Regions from separate parts of the Homo sapiens genome. Here regions 1 and 3 are each linked to region 2. The links are contacts of gene promoters, found by promoter capture Hi-C in blood cells and fetal thymus (Javierre and others, 2016). All regions are on one chromosome and are shown on one strand. Each heading gives the region's core, a stretch centred on a gene start or on the middle of the fragment in contact. The rest is flanking DNA. Distances are from core to core; before and after follow the strand shown.

What was found. The method cuts DNA at HindIII sites, captures the fragments that hold promoters and counts their contacts. A CHiCAGO score of 5 or more calls a contact.
Region 1: a contact is called between a fragment that was not itself captured here and the fragment with the promoter of LINC03068 in region 2, in 6 of 17 cell types (naive CD4 T cells, activated CD4 T cells, non-activated CD4 T cells and 3 more). The highest score is 11.0, in naive CD4 T cells.
Region 3: a contact is called between a fragment that was not itself captured here and the fragment with the promoter of LINC03068 in region 2, in 2 of 17 cell types (non-activated CD4 T cells and activated CD4 T cells). The highest score is 7.3, in non-activated CD4 T cells.

The regions. Positions count from the first base shown.
Region 1 is chr10:132,178,013-132,181,677 of GRCh38, forward strand. The region is part of intron 23 of JAKMIP3 (Janus kinase and microtubule interacting protein 3); the gene reads left to right. JAKMIP3-AS1 (JAKMIP3 antisense RNA 1) reads right to left here. Exons shown (of 4, transcript NR_184044.1): 3 at 3,449-3,532; 4 at 1-1,028. Among named protein-coding and RNA genes, the nearest start is that of JAKMIP3-AS1, 6.9 kb to the right of the region's middle. The HindIII fragment of the contact is 8,704 bases long and covers 1-3,665 here.
Region 2 is chr10:132,442,949-132,446,454 of GRCh38, forward strand. LINC03068 (long intergenic non-protein coding RNA 3068) reads right to left here and starts at 2,034. Exons shown (of 3, transcript NR_184030.1): 1 at 1,824-2,034. It overlaps LINC02870 (long intergenic non-protein coding RNA 2870), which reads left to right and starts at 2,241. Exons shown (of 3, transcript NR_149317.1): 1 at 2,241-2,330; 2 at 2,748-2,831. RefSeq lists silencers at 781-830, 931-980. The HindIII fragment of the contact is 13,459 bases long and covers 1-3,506 here.
Region 3 is chr10:131,970,062-131,973,452 of GRCh38, forward strand. It overlaps BNIP3 (BCL2 interacting protein 3), which reads right to left. Exons shown (of 6, transcript NM_004052.4): 3 at 2,973-3,057; 4 at 803-909; 5 at 577-726. It also overlaps a transcript of PPP2R2D not described here. Among named protein-coding and RNA genes, the nearest start is that of BNIP3, 10 kb to the right of the region's middle. RefSeq lists an enhancer at 2,206-3,076. The HindIII fragment of the contact is 5,510 bases long and covers 1-3,391 here.

The DNA.
Region 1 (3,665 bases), core at 911-3,410, 260 kb before region 2:
GTGCATTTGGTTGTGTGTGAACCTGCTCCTGTGCACCCGCTTCTGTGCACCCACTTCACTGTCCCACCTGCCACCTGCACCATCAAAGTGGCTTCTGCCTTTATTATTTATTAGGGAGCTGTAGAGCCAAAATCAGTAGGAGGGTGACCCAGAGCAGAGCACCACGTGCCTGAGGACTGTCCCAGGATGGGAGGACCATTCCAGCATCCGTGTGAGCCACATGGGGCTCCGCCGTGGTGGCTGGGGAGAGGATGACCTCAGAGGCGGCCCTGGGCAGACAGGGAGTTGATAACAGCACTGGTCCCCTCTGTAGAGTTGAGAGAGACCCCATGAAGGGGGTAGAGGAGGAAGAGGGAGGAGGAGGCACAGCCTGTGTCTGGGTAAGGTCTGTTTCATATTTTCCCCAAATCAGAGCTTCAAGAAAAAAATACCTTGACTGTGAGCAGAGTTAGTGGCTGCCATTTGTTTCTGTTTGGTTTGAAAATGTTTGGCTAAAGTTTCTCAGACAAAAGAGCATATGGGGAAAGGTCCTGTGCTTGGCCCTCACTCCATGTCCTATCAGCTGGGAATCTGTGTATTTGTGGGGCGGTGTTGGGGAAGAGCAAGGATCCAGACTGCAGGGTCTCACCCCCTCCCAAGCGGCTCACCCTGTGTGAGAACCCTGGGGTTGCTTGTCTCATGCACATTTTTGGAAACTGAGGCTGTAGGTCCCGAGCCTTCCAGTGGCATTCATCATCTGTTGATTCTGAAGCAGGCAGAGTTCCGGACCCCAGGAAGGTTCTTGTCTTCCTTGCCAACTGAGTTATGTTTCCAAACAGTTGAGATCCCAGTGGAAATTTCCAGCACACACAGACGGCAGGGGCCTGTTCCTCCGGCTCTGTTTTGACATCAATCAGAATGCTGTTTCCTGATCCATATGTACGACTACGTCTGCACGTGGTACCCATGGTGGTATTGATGAGGGTTCTGCCCTGCAGCTTTTAGCGAGGTTCTGGTGCCTTCGTGCCCGTGGGGCTGGGGGCCCCGACCTGTGGAAACACCCTGTGTCAGCCCTGGGTGGTGCCCCAGGCATGCTGCCATCTCCTGTCCCTGCTGCCGCCCTTGGCACTGTCCAATGAGCCAAGTTCATGATTGTGGTTGTCAACTTGTTCCTACACTTCATCAGCTATCCTCGTTGCAGCCCAAGATAAAATTACCCAGGCTTTCCCCTCCAGCGTGAAGGGCAGGGGCCCTCAGTGCTCATCCTCCCCCAGCATCATGCACGGTCACGGGGCTGTATTTGTTGACGGGACTTTTGGGCTCCCCGGGCTCTGAGCTGGTTGGGGCTCCACCTGCACTATGCCTGAGCTCCCCACATCCTACCTCTCTCCTGTCACTCGAAGCTCAGCCACCTGAGCAGCACTTTCCTGCCCCCTCCCTGAGAACTGGGAGCTCTTGGGATGAGGATTATCTGGGTTTCTCCCGCGGAACCCTTACTGTGGCACTGATACACTCACATAAACATTTGCCACGTGAATGGCCAAGTACGTAAAAGAATGCGCTCCCTGAAGGCAATTCGCAGCCCCATGTTCCCCCCACCCCCCACACTTCCAGGCAACAGTGAAAGCAGATGTTCTGGGGGTCCCCGAGACCACCTGCATCTCTGGGGACTCGCTAGGATTCACAGGACTCAGCACACAGTCACACCACAGCAGGGCCACACCACGGCAGGGTCGCACCACAGCAGGGTCACGCCACGGCAGGGTCACACCACAACAGCCACACCATGGCACAGCCACACCATTATCGCAGCCCTATAATCGGGAGGCATGGCTGGATCTGCAAGGGAAGAGTTCACAGGCACAGCCTGGAGAGGCCTGTGAGCAGACTTCCTGTGCTCTCTCCCCTCCCATGCTCTTCCCCCTGTGAGGTGCACACGGGGCACACACTCCCTCCAGCAGCAAAACACAGCCCCATATATGCAGTGTTTCTGCTCGGGAAATTCCAGCTAAGACCCAAAATTCATGGTTTTGATTTGGGGGCTACTCAGTTGTGCGCCCCCCACCCACTAACATGCCAGGCCCTCAAAAGGAAGGCTGGTGTTTGCCATGAATCACATTGTTTGCACAGTCTAGGCAGGAACCTCCTCACTAAAGGAATGCTTCGAAGCCAAGTTCCCAGACGCCAGCCAATGGCCACCGTTGCAAGCAGGCACTTCTGCAGCTAGCAGCCTCAGGCCTGTCCACAGAGACACTCTTGAGTGAGGACCCTGGGGTGCCAGAGCTTGCTTGGGGGCATTGAGGAGCCCCATGGAGCCACAGAGACCAAGGCCAGACCCATGGATGGCTGCCTCCCACCTGTCCTGTGCCTGACATGGCTCCAGTTTGGATGAGGTCCTCAGCTGACTGTGAGGGACAGTGCCCAGAAAGGGGAGGGTGGGTGGGAGGGAGAAGATCACGTTCCCTAGAAGAGACGGAACAGATGGGGTAGGGCGGGAGGGATTTGGGAAGACTGCAAACCTGGAAGCAGAACTGTGTGTGTGTGTGTGTGTGTGCGTGCGTGCATGCGTGTGTGTGCGTGTGTGTGTGCGTGCGCGTGTGTGTGTGCGTGCGCGTGTGTGTGTGCGTGTGTGTGCGTGTGTGCGTGCGTGTGTGCGTGTGCGTGTGCGTGTGTGCGTGTGTGTGCGCGCGCGTGTGTGTGCGTGCGTGTGTGTGTGCGCGTGTGTGTGCGTGTGTGTGCGTGTGTGCGTGCGTGCGCGCGCGTGTGTGCGTGTGTGTGCGTGTGTGTGTGTGCGCGTATGCATGTGCTGTGAGTGGTGTGTTGTGTATGCATGTGTGTATATATCGTGTGCATGTGTGTGCTGTGTGTGAGTGGTGTCTTTGGGCATGTGCATGTATGTGTATGTGTTGTGCATTGCATGTGCCTGTATGTGTATTTTGCATTGTGTGTACACATGTACAGTGCATTTGTGCGTATTGTGTGGGCATGTGTGTGTAGTGTATTGTGTGTACATGCATGTGCAGTGTGTATGTGCTGTTTGCACATGTGCAGGTATGTGTATTGTGCATTGTGTGTACGTGCACATGTAGTGTGTGTGTGTGAGTGGTATGTTGCGGCCATGGATGGGGCAGAAAGTCTCCTGTTCTGGAAATAGGGCAGTGAGTGGAGTGTGCTGACAATGGAGAGCAGCAGCTGGCTCTGGAGAGGGATCAAGTGACCACAGGAAACCAAATGCTCTGGTCTTGTTCCTTTAATTTGGGGAGTGAGTTTTTAAAATTCAGCATCATATTTTCAACAAGACCTCTGTTCTCTATTTGCATGTGCCTAGTTCATACTCCAGGCAGTTGATCACATAATTCAGAGAGGCATTGACAGGGTGGGAGTGTTTCTGGGTAGGTGTCCAGATCCCCGGCCCTTCTCAGCCTGGAAGTGTCACCGAGGGAAATCCCTGTTTTACATGGGGCTTCACCTTTTCCCTCTGTAAAATATGAGGGCTGGACTGGCAGGTCCCCTTCCTCCTGTACCTTCTAGAGATCGATGGTTCCGGGACAACCTATTTAGAAACGAACCCGATTAAAGGCACAAAGAACAAGGTACTATGTTAACTGCAGCAGAGATTTCAACTGTAACGCTTAATACGGGAAGAAGTAAACATGTATGTGTCATTTGACTACATTTATTTTTCA
Region 2 (3,506 bases), core at 784-3,283:
ACCCTCACCTCTGCCTTCTTGCCTCTGCTCTGCCTGGCCCATGGCTCTGTAGGCCTCCGTCCTCTAAGGACTCAAATTTTTTAATATAAAAATAAGTTGCAGGCCGGGTGTGGTGGCTCACACCTGTAATCCCAGCACTTTGGGAGGCCGAGGTGGGCAGATTACCTGAGGTCAGGAGTTCAAGACCAGACTGGCCAATATGGTGAAACCCTATCTCTACTAAAAACACAAAAATTAGCTGGACATGGTGGGGGACGCCTTTAGTCCCAGCTACTTGGGAGGCTGAGGTAGGAGAATTCCTTGAGCCCAGGAGACGGAGGTTGCAGTGAGCTGAGATCGTGCCACTGCACTCCAGCCTGGGCAACAGAGTGAGACTCTGTCTCAAATAAAATAAAATAAGGCCAGGTGCGGTGGCTCACGCCTGTAATCCCAGCACCTTGGGAGGCCAAGGCAGGTGGATCACGAGGTCAAGAGACTGAGACCATCCTGGCTAACACGGTGAAACCCCATCTCTACTAAAAATACAAAAAATTAGCCAGGCGTGGTGGCGGGCGCCTGTAGTCCCAGCTACTCGGGAGGCTGAGGCAGGAGAATGGCGTGAACCCGGGAGGCGGAGCTTGCAGTGAGCCGAGATCACGCCACTGCACTCCAGCCTGGGCGACAGAGCGAGACTCCGTCTCCAAAATAAATAAATAAATAAAATAAAATAAAATAAAAAGTTGCAGTGTCAGCAATGAGTTAGCTCTTTAATGGGGGCTTTTTTAAATGAATATTTCTCAGCTGTTGGTGAGCTCAGCTGAGGGAGGGCGGGCGCCACGGGTCCCTGACTCAGACCTGACTGTGGGGCTGGGACACGACTGCCCCTAGTGGGAGCAAGGCCCAACGGTTGGGGGGTGCCCAGCGCCCAGCCAGCAGCTGGGGTGTCTGTGGGGGCTCCCCCATCGCCCTCCCCTCCCCCTTCCCTTCCTTCCCTCTCCTCTCAACCCCCACTCCCCTCACACCTTCCCCTCCCCCTCACTCCTCTCCCCTCTCCTCAGGGCTCCCTGGCTTCCTGCCTCACCCTTCCCCTCCCCCCACTCCCCTTCCTCAGGGCTCCCTCCCCTCACTCCCTCCCCACTCACTCCCTCTCCCCTTCCTCAGGGCTCCCCGCCTCACTCCCTCCCTGCTCACTCCCCTCCCCTTCCTCAGGGCTCCCCACCCCCCCACTCCTCCTCCCCTCTCCTCAGGGCTCCCCCCCTCACTCCCACTCACTCTCCTCCCCTCTCCTCAGGGCTCCCTCCCTCCTCACTCCCTCCCCGCTCACTCCCCTCCCCTTCCTCAGGGCTCCCTCCCCCCTCACTCCCTCCCCCGCTCGCTCACTCCCTCTCGCCTCTCCTCAGGGCTCCCCGGCTTCCTGCCTCTCTGAATTCCTCCTCCAGACCCTCAAGGCTCCCTGCTCATTCCCTCTGGGGTCCTGAGGTCTCCAAGGGCCACTCTGGCTTCCCCCCTGCAGACCCACCCTCCTAGGGGAACAGGGTGACCCCACACAGACACTGATGGGACAAGAGAACCAGCCCTGCAGAAAGCCTCCAGGTGAGGCTGACAGTGCTGGTCCTGTGACGGGGAAGCAGGTGAGAGCCATCTCTGGCCTCAAGGCTGATCAGCAGCCCCCAAGGTGTCCTCTGCAGAGAGGGCCAGCCTCAGGCCTGCCACCCCGTAGACCACAGGGACCTGTCCTGAGATTCCTCCATTTCTGAGCACCAGCCTAGGAAATGATGGAGGGTCTGGCCCCCAGGCCCAGACCCCCAGGCCCCCTGCCCCCGTCTAGGTCCCCAGGTACTTGCAGAAAAGAAGGGGTGAGCACAGCCTTCTGTAAGGGGGCGCCCGAGTCCTGGCCAAGGTGGCCGCCCACCCTGGGGCTCCAAGGTCCAGGCAGCCACCTCTTCGGTCTCTGCCCTTAATGTGGGGCAGAGTGGCAGGTCAGAGCCCCGGCCCTGGCCCCGGCCCCAGCCCCAGCTCCTCCTCAGCCACAGGGGCATCTCCAATTCCTGAAATAATTCAGTTCCCTCTCCTGGGCACCTCTAGAGCCCAGCTGGGCCCAGGGTGTGTTCTGCAGTTGTGGGGGTGGGGGGGAGGATTTTGCAACCCTACCCTCTCTGCAGGGTACCTCCGGTGGCTCTGGCCTCTGGGCCCCATGCTGTGCCAGACACACAGAGAGGCTCAGCCAGTTATTTCCAAGAGGCCAGGCAGGCAGGAGAGGCCCAGGATCTGCCAGGACTGGGAAGGGAGGCAGGAGGCTTCTCTGGGTATAAAGCAGCTGAAATGTGGAGTTTCCTCCCAGGAGCTGAGAGGTAGCTGCAGGGCGAGCCCTGGGGGAAGTGTGCAGCCGCTGGAGCTCCGTCCTGGGCAGGGGTGGTCACGGCTTGAGGATGGCAAGGGCTGATGCCTTGTTTGCTTTTAAAATTGTTGCTATTTGCTGTAGTTCCCCTGTTATTCCTAAACTCTCAGGAAGCACCTACTGGCCTCAAGGTAGTCTCGCTTATGGGGCTGGGGATGAAGAAGAGTGGGGTGTGCAGGTGGGCAGAGCTCCAGCGGCAGGAGGCTGAGGGCGGGCTGGGGAGTAGCAGCAGGGGATGGGCACGAGGCCCCTTCGGTCCTCCTGCAGCTGTTTTAATGTGGCGTTTTGGAAAGAGCCGCACCCCGTGGGTGCCTATGGGAAGGAGGCGTCTTAGTCACATGCCCCTAACGATTGCGGCGTTTCTCTACAGCGTGTCCATGGGCCCAGTGCCTGGCGTGTCCTCCCTGGGAGCTTGCTGGACGCATGACCAGGATTCTGGGAGGGCAGAGGACAGGTGGGTCCTGGTGGTAGGTCAGCTGCTGAGTTTCCCTATGACGTTTGTTCCGCTGGTGCCCAGAGCCCCTTCAAGGTGTCCATCATCAGGGGAGAAGTGGCGCCACAAACTGCCTTTTAACCCTGGGGTCCTGCCAAGAGGTCTGGGGTGTCCTGGGGCCTGTGGCCTGGGCTGCAAGTGCAGCCAGTTCCCTCAGGGCATGGCCACCAGCCCTGGGCTCCCGTGCCCGGGTTTCCCTGCCTGCCTGGCTGGTCAGAGGAGGGAGTCCCTCTATCCACTCTGCCCCACATTAAGGGGAGAGACTGAAGAGGTGGCTGCCTGGACTGTGGAGCCCCAGGGTGGGCGGCCACCTTGGCCAGGACTCGGGCGCCCCCTTACAGAAGGCTGTGCTCACCCCTTCTTTTCTGCAAGTACCTGGGGACCTAGACGGGGGCAGGGGATGCCCAAAAGGGCCTAGACACCTTCCATGGCAGCCGCCATCACAGGGTCTGTGGGAGGGCGTGTCCTCCCTTCCGCAGGCCTGGTGGGCAGCGAGGCCGTGCAGCTGCGACCCACCCTCACATCCGGGCCGGGAGCGGACTGAGGCCCAAGGCTGAGCCTCCACTCTGGACCTGGGACGTCTGGGCAGAGGAGCCCCGTGGTGGGGCCAGGGCGAGGGCATAGGGGCCTCAGGGT
Region 3 (3,391 bases), core at 281-2,780, 470 kb before region 2:
CCAGCTACCCAGGAGGCTGAGGCAGGAGAGTCGCTTGAACCCAGGAGGCAGAGGCTGCAGTGAGCCGAGATCACGCCCCTGCACTCAGCCTGGGCAACAAGAGCGAAACTCAAGCCAGTAAAGTCGGAGACTGCATTGGTTCCTTCATTGCTGAGAGTTACTAGAACAACAGTCCTGTCTGGAGGAAGTACAGCAGGTAACTGAGACCCTCCACCTACAGCAGAGCTGGGTGCATTCCCGCCACAGTACTACACAGAAATGAGACTGCTTTCACCTACACACAGGACAAAGAGGTCAGACCTAAGAAGCCCTGCTTTGACTCCGTTTATATTCAGTGAGCAACAGGCAGACTCGTCAGGCCAGACAGCAGCACCACAGGGCGCCTGTGCTGGGGCCTTTGGGGGCTGCAGGCTGGTGGTTTCTGGACCTGAACAGTGACTACGTGGGTGTTTGTGAAAATGCACCAAGCTGTAACTGATGATCTGGACTTCAGGAAACAGGTTACGAATAAATCACTGCAACCCAGAATCGCCCCACGACATGCCATGACAGGAGTCACACAGTCACATCACCTACCCCAATCCGATGGCCAGCAAATGAGAGAGCAGCAGAGATGGAAGGAAAACTTTCAGAAATTCTGCAGAGAATATGCCCCCTTTCTTCATGACGCTCGTGTTCCTCATGCTGAGGGTGGCCGTGCGCTTCGGGTGTTTAAAGAGGAACTCCCTGAGGCGGGAAGAAACGTGTCAGCTGATGTGTCCTCTGTCAAGGGGTGCCCCCGTGACACTGAGAACACACTCACTTGGGGGGAATATTTTCCGGCCGACTTGACCAATCCCATATCCAATCTGAGTTTTTCTTCAAGATGCTTTCAACTTCTTTCCTTCTTTCAATATCATCTTCCTCAGACTAAGATAAAGTCAATGTTAAAGGCAGATCAGTGTACCACACGTGACACGGGAAAGCACCCAGCTCCCACCCGAGCTTCAGATCCGCAGGCTCAATTCAAGAGCCCAGAGGCACATGTCAGTGCCTCGGACCGTGGTCCAAGGGGAGTCCTGGGGCTGGGGGCCTTCCCCGGGCCGCGCCGCACTCCCGGCTCACAGCACGCTCGCCGCCTCCAGGGACAGATCACCTCTGGGGGAGCCCCACTCAGGGCGTAAATACATTTGGTTCACTGTGAGATTCTGGGGGTACTGACAGCGGCAAACACTGTCCTAGGGAAGTCACGTGACATGAGGGCAAAGATGGTGACGGCAGCACTGGTTATAAGAAAAGAAAATGAAAACAGCCGAAAACGGCTCAAAACAGGGACATGACGAAGGAAGGGACACTGTATAGTGAGCAGGTTTACAAGATGCTTCCGGGATAAGCAGGAGGGAAAAGGCAGAAATGTCCACATAACCACAGCTGCGGCCAAATCCTCAGAATTATATAACAGCACGAAACATTAAAGAGGATTTTAAATCTGAGAGTCTAAGTGTTTTTCTCTACTTTTTTGCATTTTCAAAATTCTGTACCTGAACATCTAATTCCTTTTAAAACTAGGGGAAGTTTTGTGTAAAACAGTGAAAACGGCAAGACCCTGTCTCAAAAAAAAAGAAATAAAATTGAAAATACTCAAGAATATAGCTCCCCAAACCCACCAAACATCTGGGTACACCCAAGCTGGGTACAGCCCCAAGTGCCCAGGAGCAGGCCGCACGCCCTGGATGCACCCACACACCCACAGCCAGGGCTCCTGGGGCTCCCGAAATCATGCTGCCCCTCGGAGTGGGGCCAGGGGATGTCCCTGAGAAAGCCTGGGTAACAGGGACTCCTTGTTTCCTTGGTGAAGAAAGCCTTGAGGGAAGCGCTAGCACGGAAGGGTCAGCTACTAACCCTGCCTGGAAGGCCATGCTTCCTCACAGAGCTTCCAAAATACAGAACACAGTCCGTCGTCAAAGTTCTCACCAGCAACGAACACCCAAGAAAACACATCGCGCATCTCATCTGCAGCAAGGTAAGGCACTGCCAGATATAACTGAGCAAGACAGTACTGATCACTGCCTCGAACCCTATCTGTGCCGGAGTAGGAAGGGAGAACGATAGTACACCAAGGCAATAACCCCAGGTACACTTTTTCCTCTAAGACTCACTCCGCTTTCACAACAATGCTGAAGGCCGCTCTGTAAAGCCCATTCAATAGCTGTTAACAGAAAAGTCATCTTAGGCTGGACACAGTATCTCACACCTATAGTCCCAGTATTTTGGGAGGATCACTTGAGCCCTGGAGTTCAAGACCACCCTGGGCAACACAGGGAGACCCCGTCTCTACAAAAAAAACTTTTTTAAAAAAGAAGAAAAAGTGATCTTACACTAAATTATCAGGCTGATCAGCCGCTAATGCTACACTGCTCCGGCACCAGTTAGCTCAGGACTAATGCTAGGAAAGGCACAGGGTGTAATTTCCGGCAGGTAGTGAGTGTCTAATGAGGAAGACACCTCAGAGTCACAGCCACAGTGGCCACATGGCCTTAGATGGCCCCGTGGGTAACTCCTGAGTCCCACACAGCATGCAAATATTAAAACCCACTCACTGTCCAACCAGCAACCACGAGGAAAGACCAGCCAGTAGCTGGCTCACTGCCACCCCTTCCAATGGTCCCTCCCTCCTCTCTAGGCTGCAGCCACCAGGGAGCCCTTCCTCCTTTCCGGTGTATCCCTGATGGCAGGCAGGGAGGGACAGGAGGCCCCCGCTGCCTGTCCCACTCGGCGCCTCCCCCGCTCAGCTGAGTGTCCAGCCCATGTGCTTGTGGATGTTCCCACCCACAGTTTCTTGGTTTTTTTGTTTCGCTTTTTTGTTTTTTTTAAAGCAGGAAACACCCTTAAAGCCCGACTTTTCTCTGAGGTGCTCAATTACATTTAAAACCGTTTCCTGTACAAACAGATCACAAATACTTTTACAACTGCACATTCTCCTTCCAGCTTACCTGTGAGCTGTTTTTCTCTCCAATGCTATGGGTATCTGTTTCAGAAGCTCTGTTGGTATCTTGTGGTGTCTGCGAGCGAGGTGGGCTTGGCGATGTGAATAGAATGGGAAAAACAGAACATCATGTGAACATTCTATCATTAGAAGCTCAAACCCCAAAGGCAGTGAACCGCCTCCGTGATGAGGGGCTCTAGCCAGTCAGCGTACGCGTCTTCCCTTCCACCCAGCACCTGCCAGAGCCAAACTCTTCCTCAGCCCTTTTGGCTGAGCACGACAGGAGTGAGCTAGCCAGTCTTCCAGAGAAGACGCAGGGGCAACTGGCAAGCAGCTGGCTTTGTCACCTGCCGCCTTCACGGTCTGGGTCTGTTGCACAGCTCTCAAGGGCACGCGACCTTTGACCACTGTCGGCCACTCTACCTT